Regions from separate parts of the Homo sapiens genome. Here regions 2, 3 and 4 are each linked to region 1. Evidence: promoter capture Hi-C in human tissues and cell types (Jung and others, 2019). All regions are on one chromosome and are shown on one strand. Each heading gives the region's core, a stretch centred on a gene start or on the middle of the fragment in contact. The rest is flanking DNA. Distances are from core to core; before and after follow the strand shown. Region 1 holds the start of GAL3ST1 (galactose-3-O-sulfotransferase 1). Region 2 holds the start of SF3A1 (splicing factor 3a subunit 1). Region 3 overlaps SEC14L2 (SEC14 like lipid binding 2). Region 4 overlaps MTFP1 (mitochondrial fission process 1).

The links. The method cuts DNA at HindIII sites, captures the fragments that hold promoters and counts their contacts. A contact is called where the count stands out against the background at its distance.
Region 2: the fragment with the promoter of SF3A1 here is called in contact with the fragment with the promoter of GAL3ST1 in region 1 in 1 of the 25 tissues and cell types used here (heart left ventricle).
Region 3: a contact is called between a fragment that was not itself captured here and the fragment with the promoter of GAL3ST1 in region 1, in 2 of the 25 tissues and cell types used here (adrenal gland and dorsolateral prefrontal cortex).
Region 4: a contact is called between a fragment that was not itself captured here and the fragment with the promoter of GAL3ST1 in region 1, in 1 of the 25 tissues and cell types used here (dorsolateral prefrontal cortex).

The regions. Positions count from the first base shown.
Region 1 is chr22:30,573,363-30,575,964 of GRCh38, forward strand. GAL3ST1 (galactose-3-O-sulfotransferase 1) reads right to left here and starts at 1,303. Exons shown (of 4, transcript NM_001318104.2): 1 at 1,104-1,303. RefSeq lists enhancers at 1-542, 543-1,223. The HindIII fragment of the contact is 15,540 bases long and covers 1-2,602 here.
Region 2 is chr22:30,355,569-30,358,170 of GRCh38, forward strand. It overlaps SF3A1 (splicing factor 3a subunit 1), which reads right to left and starts at 1,326. Exons shown (of 16, transcript NM_005877.6): 1 at 1,162-1,326. The coding sequence starts at 1,224. CCDC157 (coiled-coil domain containing 157) reads left to right here and starts at 1,439. Exons shown (of 12, transcript NM_001017437.5): 1 at 1,439-1,564. RefSeq lists a silencer at 1,023-1,272 and an enhancer at 2,208-2,602. The HindIII fragment of the contact is 21,616 bases long and covers 1-2,602 here.
Region 3 is chr22:30,399,570-30,402,171 of GRCh38, forward strand. SEC14L2 (SEC14 like lipid binding 2) reads left to right here. Exons shown (of 12, transcript NM_012429.5): 2 at 74-149. Among named protein-coding and RNA genes, the nearest start is that of SEC14L2, 3.9 kb to the left of the region's middle. RefSeq lists an enhancer at 2,222-2,602. The HindIII fragment of the contact is 5,754 bases long and covers 1-2,602 here.
Region 4 is chr22:30,427,097-30,429,698 of GRCh38, forward strand. MTFP1 (mitochondrial fission process 1) reads left to right here. Exons shown (of 4, transcript NM_016498.5): 3 at 75-307; 4 at 1,366-1,958. The coding sequence ends at 1,438. Among named protein-coding and RNA genes, the nearest start is that of MTFP1, 2.6 kb to the left of the region's middle. RefSeq lists an enhancer at 1-51. The HindIII fragment of the contact is 3,204 bases long and covers 1-2,602 here.

The DNA of each region.
Region 1 (2,602 bases), core at 53-2,552:
ACAAGTCATTGAATTTCCCTGAGCCTCAGTATCCCCCTCTGGATAATGGGGATAGGTAGCAATGCCTCCTTCACAGGACAAGGAACAGTGCGTACACAGTGACTGCTCTGGTCCAGGACTGCCCTCCTGTGCCCCCTGTGTGGGCCTGGATGAGCCTCACCCTCTCTGGGCCTCAGGTCACCCCGTCAGTAAAGGAAGAGATTGGGTTTTCCCAACTGGAATGGACAGTCCTCTACACCTCTCTCCCCTCTGGAGGATTCTCATGCACCTGTCACCGCGGCAGCCCGGGGATCAGGTGTCAGGCATGCTGCCTTCTCTCCCTTTCCTTCCCCCTGGTGTGGGTTACAGCAGCCAGACATGCCCATCACCTCTCTGGCTCTGGGCAGCTGGGCGGGGCAGTTCCCACTGGGCAGGGCTCGGTCTGTAGTGTGCTCTGTGCTGGTACCAAAATGCTGGCCTGGCACCGAAGGGGCAGATCAAGCTGGACCCCCTTCCTGGGCACTGGGCTAGGAAACAGGAACTGTAGGATTTCCTATAGGACCCCTCCTGGATGCCAGGGTTTGTCCCACTCTCCCAAACCTCTCCTTGGTGGCTTTGCTTCCTCTGGGGTACAGGCCAGGGCCTTCCCCCAGCAGAGGGGATCCATCCCTTACTATGGTCTCCGGTTCCTGCTCTGATCCCCTTTCTAGGAAGGGCTGATGGAGACAGGGGAGATCTCTGCCCCTCCTCCCCTAGGGCTCTGGCCACTGTGTCCAAGATTAATCATTAACGCACTCCCAGCTCCAGCTCAGCCCCAGCAGCCTGCCTTCTGCCCCACCCATCCCACCTTCAGGGACTGGGAAGCCCTGGAAGGGGGGTTGGGGGACAGGGGAAAAAACCAAGGGCATGGGGGGCACCAACCTGTGCCCTCCCTGGCCCCTACCAGGCCACCCTCTGGCAGTGGGCAGGGGTACCCAGCGCTTAGAACAGCGGTACTGCACTCCTACTCCCCTCCTCCGGCGCGTGGTCCCAGTTTGGGGGTTAGCGTAATGTGGGCGGTATCCCCAGGGAGTAGACTGAGGCAGGGCTCAAGCTGGCAGTGGGTGCTGGAGCCCGGGACGTACCTTGTCCCCGTCCTCCTCCGCCTCAGCGTGGCTGGCTCGGCCCGGGCCGCGCCGCCCGGGCGCTCACTGGGCGGCGGGGCGCACCCGGCCGGGCCCCCCGCTCCACCAGGCCTGGTCCATGCCCCCGCCCCCGCCGCCGCTGCCGCGCCGCGCCCGCTCCCGCGCCGCGCCCGCTCCCGGCCAGGTGCCGCCGCCAGCCTGGCCCAGCCTCCGGCGCCGGGGCCAATGGACGCCCCGGACCCCAGACCCCTCCCCGCCCCGGGCCGGCCCCCTCCCCGCCCCATCCCGGCCCCTCTGCGCCCGCCCGAGACGCACAGAAGCCGCATTCAGCGCGCTGGGGCGCAACGCTGCGCCCCCGCCGCCGGCCCAACAAGGCCCGTTTGTCTCGGACGCGCCAACGGGGCCATTGTCCCGCCCCGGTCCTCTGGCTCAACGGAGCCCCCAGCCCAGAAGACTTGAGGATGCCCAGGCTTGGTGGTGGTGGGGAGGGGAGCCAGGGCTCTGGGAAAAAGGCGGCGGACGGACTATTGCTTAACTTTGGTTGGGGGGTCCTGGGGCCCTTAGGATCCAATGGATCATACGGCTTCTTGCTCTAGTCAGTGCCAACTGGGGACGACACATTTTTGGCACTCATGGGAGTGGAGGGAGCTCAAGCAAGAGACTGAGCTCCAACTGGTCCTGTCACCTGGAGGTCTCAGCTGTCACTCTCTAGGGTGCCAATGAGGGCTGAGCAAGGCCACCAGGAGGCAGGTGTCCCATCCAGGCCCTGTCTCATTTTCCAGGCCTGGCCTTTCCTTCTTCACCCCAGAGGAGCAAGACCATGGATGAGGACCAATGCCTGCCAGGGGCCAGGAATCCTCAGCGCCAGCTGTGGGCAGTAAGGAACCAGCTGGCCACCCAGTGGGGCCTGGGATGCGTCAGAGCCCCACTGCCCCCGCCATTACTGGGCGATTCTGGAATGGGGAAAATTCCACATCAGCATGGCTGCCAGGAATTTTTCCGTATCTGATGGGCCTGCGCTCTAGCCGTGTGGCCCTGGATGCACAGTTCCCCAGACAGGCCTGAGTTGTCTCCCGGGGCTGCAGGCTCTGGCTCCAGAGGTCCTGACCCTCTGTCCCAGCCTCTGGAGGCAACCTCACTCCCTCCCATCGCCGTGTGCATGACAGAGTGGGAATGGCACACAGCCCTCTCCTTCCACCCACAGCCAGTCCCAGCTGAGAGGGGGAGCCCTAGGTTTTCTGCTCCCCAGGCCAGAGCCTGCCCAAGCTCTTGCCTTCCCCCTGCACAGGTTGGACCTACATCCACTGCCACAAAAACATTCTCTGCCCACACAGCCAGCAAACAGTGAGAGGCAGAGGGCAAGGCCCTCAGGTGCCTAGATTCAGGGAAAGTAGAGCCATTCCAAACCCACACTTCCTCAGCGTGGCCCCAACCCTCGACAGCACTCACCCCGGGAAGTGAGTCCTGGGAGGGGCTGAGTGAGCACTGGGAGACCCAGG
Region 2 (2,602 bases), core at 76-2,575, 220 kb before region 1:
TTCCCACTGTCTACAAGGAAAAGTTCAAATCCTAAGTAAGAATCGCATCTCCTGCCACTACGCTCCTAAGTCTATGCTTCAACACTTGTTCATTTACTCTTGATCAGAGACACCGTTTGATTCACCTCGGTGTCTTTGCGCATATTATCTGGCTATTACCTTATTTTCCCCCAATGCCTGGGAAAATGCCAGGGACACACGGGCACTTAAATATTTGTGGAAAAGGCATGGCTTCTTCAGTCATGTTCCCCCCCCCCGCCCCCCTTATTCTGAACCCAAAGCAATGATCAGCGTATGTGTTCAATAAATATTTGCTGGATGAATAAAGGATGCTATTTCCCTTCCCTAGTCACCTACCTGGCAAACTCCTATTCCTTCTTCTAAAAGAAATTTACCTCTCACTCTTGTGGGCTTCCCTACCTTAATATCCCTTCTAGCCCAGCAAACAATGTTCATTAGATTTGTACCTGAAACTTCTATCACAGGGCATATCACACCATACTACAATGGTTTGTGCACATTCGAGATTGGAGAGCTTTATTAAGGGCGGGCTGGCACTGTATCATCGATGGCCATTGGGACAACAAACATTTGGTGAGCATTCTCATATGTCTGTCTTCTCGTTAGCCTGTGAGCTCCCTAGGCAGGGACCATGCCCCATTCATTCCGGTAATGTGGGAGCCTGGCACGGTGTCTGGCTTGGGGCAGACACCGAAATAGATGCTGAGAATTAACATCCAAAGATGTACCGTGCAGGCTGGGAAATTAGCCATTACTGGGGAAAGGCTGTGGCCGGCGGCCCCAACTGCTACATAAGATCAGAGGATGGGCTGGATCAGCGCCTCTCGCACTTATAAATCAATCACCTTAGGATTTTGTTCAAATGTAGATTCCTATTTAAAAGATCTACGGCGGAGACTCCACATTTCTAAGAAGCTCCCGGCTCGTGCCGACGGGGCTGCTCCGCGGACCACTTAGAGAATCCCGTTCAGGGTGGCTCATTTCGCTACCAGAACACCACCATAGCGCGGGAAGCGCGCAGCCTCTTGGGACTTGCAGTCCCTCCAAGCCCTTCATAGCGGCCGGCCGCTTATTCCTGTGCGAGTAAGGAGCGCCCAGGCCAACCCTCCGGCTGCAGGCTGAGGGGCGGGGGAGAGGTACCTGTTTGGGCTCCGTGGGCACGGGCGGCGGCGGGGGCACCGCCTGCACGGGTCCGGCCGGCATGACTGCGACGCTCAGGGCTGCCAGTCCGCCTCGGTGTCGGTGAGCGGTGCCGCCTCAAGACAGCCTCCCCGCTCGGTCAGTACGACGAGCTCGCAAGATGGCGGCGGCCGAGCGAGTTGCGGCCGCGAAGGTACGACTGGCGCACTTCCGGGACCGTCCCCTCGCCGTGACGCGCTTCCCGCCCCTCCCCGCGGGCACCGCGGCGTCCGACGCCGTTGCCAAGGCAGCGGCCTGAGCGCCCGGCTAGGGCTTTTCGGGGATCCCGGTGGCCGCAGGCGCACCGGGGGCAGTTCCGGGAGCCGACCAGACACGAAGGCTGAAGCCGCGACGCCGAAGACAGGTGAGATGTTGTACGTCACCCGCCGGACCCCCGCCGCACTCACCTCGCGGCTCCTTTACTCCACAGGCCAGTACCTCGCTCCCTTCGACCCCGCCTTCCAAGAGCCCAGCTCCCTCCCATTGGTCTCTCATTTAGGAGAGCCCCTGTCCCCTCAGGCTCACCGCCTAAGAGCCCCACTTCCCTACTCCCTTAGTCCCCCCTTTCATTTCAGACCCACATCCTCCAAGCCCCGCTTCCAAATCCTACGCCCTTAATTCGCTTTTCCCACGGAACCTGCCTTTTCTTGCTTCCATCCCCTGCCTTCCGTAGTCCCGCCCTCAAGCCCCACTGGGGGCCTCCCTCTCAAATCAAGGCTGCTGCTTTCTTTGTCTTTCTTTTTTCTTTTTTTCTGAGACAAGGTCTTGCTCTGTCACCCAGGCTGGAGTGCAGTGGCGCGATCTTGACTCTCTGCAACCTCCGCCTCCCGAGTTCAAGCGATTCTCCTGCCTCAGCCTCCCGAGTGGCTGGGACTACAGGCGCCCACCACACCCGGCTAATTTTTTTTTTTTTTTTTTTGGCATTTTTAGTAGAGACGGGGTTTCACCATGCTGGCCAGGCTGGTCTGGAACTCCTGACCTCAAATGATCCGCCCGCCTCGGCTTCCCAAAGTGTTAGGGTTACAGGCGTGAGCCACCGCGCCCGGCCAGTTTTTAAATTTTTTTTTTTGTAGGGACATGGGAGGACGTCTCCCTATGTTGCCCAGGCTGGTCTCAAACTCCTGGGGTCAAGCGATCCTCCCGCCTTGGCCTCCCAAAGTGCTGGGATTACACGCATGAGCCATCACGCAGGGCTGCTGCTTTAGGCTTCACCCCTCACTCTCACAGATGCAGCCCTGCAAGCTATGCGGCTCGCTCCCCAGAGGCCTACCTCGAATCCCGCCGGCTTCTCTCCCTCTCCTGCGATTCCCCCCTCTCTCCTTCCTCCTCTCCTCAACTCTGGAAAGCGGGGAGCTGGCTCCGAACCTGTTCCTGGACTTCAGTTTCCTCACCTGTGAAATGA
Region 3 (2,602 bases), core at 74-2,573, 170 kb before region 1:
CAGTGGAGAGTCCTAGGCAGAGGGCAGCAGTCAGGGCGGGCCCTACCACTCACCCCGATGCCTCTCCCTACAGTTTCGGGAGAATGTCCAGGATGTGCTGCCGGCCCTGCCGAATCCAGATGACTATTTTCTCCTGCGTTGGCTCCGAGGTGAGGGAAGAGGGGCTGCGGGAGGCTGGGGCAGGGGCTTGTTCTGGGCAACAGAATAGCACCCTCTGAAAACCCTGCCCTTGGCAATTGAGGCATCTAGAGTGTCCAACCTTTAGCGCCAAAGGGCCCTTGGCAATGACATAAGCTCAACCCTCCTAGTGGATAAAGACACTGAGGCTCAGAGAGGTCAAGTGACTTGTTCCAAGCCACACAGTGAGCGAACTGCAGGCAGAGAAAAGGGGAGAGTCCAGGTCGGCTGACCCTTGGCCCACAGCCTTTTCCATCTACTCAAGAAATCTGCTCTGCTGATGGAGTTGGGGAAATTGGCTGAAGAAAAAGTGAGAAAGGCCCCAGCCATGTGGGGGGTCGGAGGCAGAGCCAAGTGTAGAACCAGAGTCCTGGCCCCTGCTATGCCCTAGTGTGATGGCAGGTCCCTGCAGACCACAGTTTAGGCAACTTGAGGGAGGGGCAGAGTGCATGGGGAACCTGAGGGGCACAGCCTGACCTAGAGTGACAAGAGTCTCCTCAAACCACCACCAGGCTCTAGAGCCCAGGTCCTGGTTCCAGCTCTTCCCCAGCCTGGCTGTGGTGCCTTGTTCAGGGTAAATACTTCCCTAGGATCCTCCTCTGGAAGAGCAGGACAAGACCTGCCTGCTGCAAGACGTGACATGACAGAACTCTGCATGTGGTGTTGAAATGCACACATTTCTACTGGCATGAGGGTCAAATTCAGCCTGGTGCCCCAATCCCTGAGATGTTTCCATTCCTTCCCCTCCTCTCCTTTCCTGTGATTCAGGTCATGTGCCACCCTCCCTGATTCTTCTGACACTTTTTTTCCCCTCTATATAGAAATTTTATTAACAGACATAGAAATAATAAAGAAAATTCCATTATGGCCAGGTGCGGTGGCTCACGCCTGTAATCCCAGCAGTTTGGGAGGCTAGGCGGGCAGATCACTTGAGGCCAGGACTTCGAGACCAGCCTGGCTGACATGGTGAAACTCCACCTCTACTAAAAAACACAAAAATTAGCCGGGCATGGTGGCGGGCACCTGTAATCCCAGCTACTCAGGAGGCTGAGGTGGGAGGGTCGCTTGAACCCGGGAGGTGGAGGTTGCAGTGAGCTGACATTTCGCCACTGCACTCCAGCCTGGGTGACAGAGGGAGACTCCGTCTCAAAAAAAAAAAAAAAAAAAAAAAAAAAAAGAAGGTTACCTTTTTTTTTTTCTTTTTAGTAGAGACCTAGGTTTCACGTTGGCCAGGCTGGTCTCGAACTCCTGGCCTCAAGTGATCTGCCTGCCTTGGCCTCCCAAAGTGTGGTATAGAATCATATCCTAAAATATTAAAGTACAAATTATGCCCTATTATTTTAATTTTAATTTCTTTTTTTGAGACAGGGTCTCACTCTGCTGCCCAGGCAATGGGCATGATCGTAGGTCACTGCTGCCTTGAACTCCTGGTCTCAAGTGATTTATTTATTTATTTATTTATTTATTTATTTATTTATTTAGAGATGGAGTCTTGCTCTGTTGCCCAGGCTGGAGTGCAATGGTGCAGTCTCGGCTCACTGCCACCTCCACCTCCCAGGTTCAAGCAATTCTTCTGCCTCAGCCTCCTGAGTAGCTGGGATTATAGGCTCCCACCACCACACCGGCTAAGGGTTTCACCATGTTGGCCAGGCTGGTCTCAAACTCCTGACCTCAGGTGATCTGCCCACCTCAGCCTCCCAAAGTGTTAGGATTACAGGCGTGAGCCACCACACCTGGCTGTTATTTTTATTTTATATTTTTATTTTTATTATTTTTATTTTTTTTGAGACAGAGTCTCACTCTGTCGCCCAGGCTGGACTGCAATGGTGCGATCTCGGCTCACTGCAACCTCCACCTCCCAGTTTCAAGCAATTCTCCTACCTCAGCCTCCCAAGTAGCTGGGATTACAGGCATGCGCCACCACGCCCGGCTAATTTTTTTTTTTTTTGTATCTTTAGTAGAGACGGGGTTTCACTATGTTGGCCAGCCTGGTCTCGAATTCCTGACCTCATGATCCATCCGCCTTGGCCTATTTTTACTTTTGAAACAGGGTCTTGCTGGCCTCAAACTCCTGGGATCAAGTGATCCTCCCACCTCAGCCTCCCGAGTAGCTTGGCCTACAGGTACACACCACTGTGACTGGCCCTATTATTTCTTTATGGACACATAAAGACATGCACATGCACACCCTAGGAGTCTTGGGGCAGATGAAGAGATGTATTTTCCTTTTCTTTCCAGAAATTTCACAGAGCTGGCACGCTCCTGAGAGGCTGCTTGTAAACATCTGAGGGCAGATCCATCCAGGAGCCTCTGGAAGTGTCACTTGCCCCTTTCCCCAAAAAAGCTTCCATACCATCCCCCTACCCCAGTCCACCGCCCAGAGATGGTGGAGGGGTAGTGTGGGGGCGGCAGTGGAATCAGTTCA
Region 4 (2,602 bases), core at 37-2,536, 150 kb before region 1:
TCTAGCCTCGTGCCCCTTGTCGCAGGATTTTCTGCCTCTGCCCCAGCTGGATTAAGTGTCTCTGCGCCCACCAGGTGCCCAGCCCTGAAGCAGGCCGCAGCGCCAGGGTGACTGTGGCTGTGGTGGACACCTTTGTATGGCAGGCTCTAGCCTCTGTGGCCATTCCGGGCTTCACCATCAACCGCGTGTGTGCTGCCTCTCTCTATGTCCTGGGCACTGCCACCCGCTGGCCCCTGGCTGTCCGCAAGTGGACCACCACCGCGCTTGGGCTGTTGACCATCCCCATCATTATCCACCCCATTGACAGGTGGGTACCTTCTTGGCCTCAGGGATCATCCACTCTCCAGTGATGAGAGTGGATCATCCAGTCTCCAGGTAGAGCTAGACTCTGTGAAGTGTGGGGTATGCCCACTTTGCTGGAGCAATAGCAGGGACAAGGCTGGCACTTGGCTCCTGGGTTAGAAAGGACAGCCTGTACCCTTGTCATATGGTATGGCAGGCACTTTAGCAATAAAAGAAGAGGGGTGCGTTGAGGGTATGGGACACAGGACAAGTAAATTCCCAGAAAGAAAGTCTAGTGTTACAAAACAACCAGAGAGAAGCAGGAGCAGGTGCACCCTAGAGGGGATGCATTTTGGGAGGTATTGGTGACAGAAGCCTAACTCAAACTGAATATTTGAATAAAATGGAGTAAAAGTCCAGGGCTGTGTTGCATTCAGGCATGGCTAGATCTAGGTACCCAAATTATGTCATTAGGGGTCTGGGTCTCCCCATCCTGCTGCCTTTCTCCCCACCCCACCCTATTTCTTGCTGGCTTCACCTGCTTTCTCCTTGTGGGAGTAGAAATGGCCCTAGCAGCTCCCAAGTTCTATCCCACCAGCTTAGCCTCCCCCAGCAGAAGCTTTTAAACAGTAACAACAAAAATCCCAAGGAAGGGTGTCATTGGTCCATTCTGGACTGCATGCCCACCCTATGAGCCAGTTTCCCTTTGCTGATTGGCCAGGCTTGGGTCACGTGCTTGGTCTTAGAACTAGATATGGGCTCAACCCAACCAGACCAATGTAAGAGTGAGAGGAGCAGTCTTTCTCCAGGAGAAGATAGCTGACCCTGAGGCCCTGAGCAAGTCTTTTACCCAGTACCTCAGTTTCCTCCTGAATAAAGAAGAGGATGGCTTCTATTCTGGGAGTTTGATTCTAGCTTCCCCAGGTAGCCCAAGGTGGAAGGATCAGGATAAGGGTGGGTCTCTGGCTGGATGGCATTTGTATCCTGCATCTAAGCGCCCCTTTCCCTAACCCTGGCCTTCTGCCTTCTGTTCCCTCATGAACACCCTTGGTCACCTGCTCACCACCCTTCCACTCCCTACAGGTCGGTGGATTTCCTCCTGGACTCCAGCCTGCGCAAGCTCTACCCAACAGTGGGGAAGCCCAGCTCCTCCTGATCATACTCTGGTACCTGGCCTGTGCATCGGCCTCCTGCTTCATGTCAACCTCCTACTCCTGCCAGGGAATGTGGACACCTGGCTCCCTGGTGTCCAAAGACCCTGGCACCTGGGTGGGTTTGAGCTGGACAGAAGCTTAGAGACAAAGGCTTCAAGAAGCAGTGGCTGCAGGGAGTCACAGAAGGGCAGGACCTGAACGCTGTCTGCTTCCCTGGAATCCAAGATGCTGAGTGGAAGTGGACCCTGGGTGGGCCCGGCCCTGTCTTTTTCAGGAAAATTACATCCTCCCATGGAGGATGAGAGACTGAGGCTCAGGGAGGGCAAGGAATAGGCCCAAGATCACTTGGCAAGCTGGGCACCCAGGACCCCCAGGTGCTTGACAGAGTCACCCCATGGTGGTATGGCTGAACAAGGAGCGGCAGACAACTCAGGGAGAAACTCAGGAGTGCAGTACCAGGGACACCTCAGGACAGATTCTCTGGCCAGGCCCTTCCCTGACCCAATAAATCCTGAAGAGGTTGTTATGTCTTCATTTCTGTTTGGGAGGAGCAGGGATGTGGTGGTGGGGAGGAGGGATGGGTAGCAGTCTCCCCGCCCATTAGTGCTTCCCTGCAGGTGCCTGGCATCCCACGTTGGTGCTGCCAGCCTCCTTTGGGGTAGGCATTACCCTTTACTTACTTACTTTTAATAGAGATGGGGGTCTCCCTATGTTGCCCAGGCTGGCCTTGAATGCCTGGGCTCAAGCAATCCTCCCACCTCAGCATCCCAAACTGCTGGGATTATAGGAATGAGCCACTGCACTCAGCCTGGCATTGCCCTCTTTTTCTAGCCTCCTAAAGCACCAACCCCTCTGGGAGGGGAGCCTGTTGGGCAGATACCACCTGAGCCTGAAGGTGGCCAAGATGGTGGTGTCAGCCCCATATGAGGGTCACATGAGACCTCCTCATGAGGGGACTCGGCAGCCTGGAGAAGGAAGTGACCAGGGGGCTTCTTACACTCAGAATCAGGGAATGGCCTGTTTTCCTTGTGGCTTCCCCTGAGCTGCTGGGCTCGAGAGTGCTAGAGGGGGCCATTCCTCTGATCCTGGGCCATCCCCCTCAACAGCTCAGAGAGGTAGAGAGGTGGGAGCACAGGGCTGAAGCAGACCTGGGCCCCTCTCAGCCC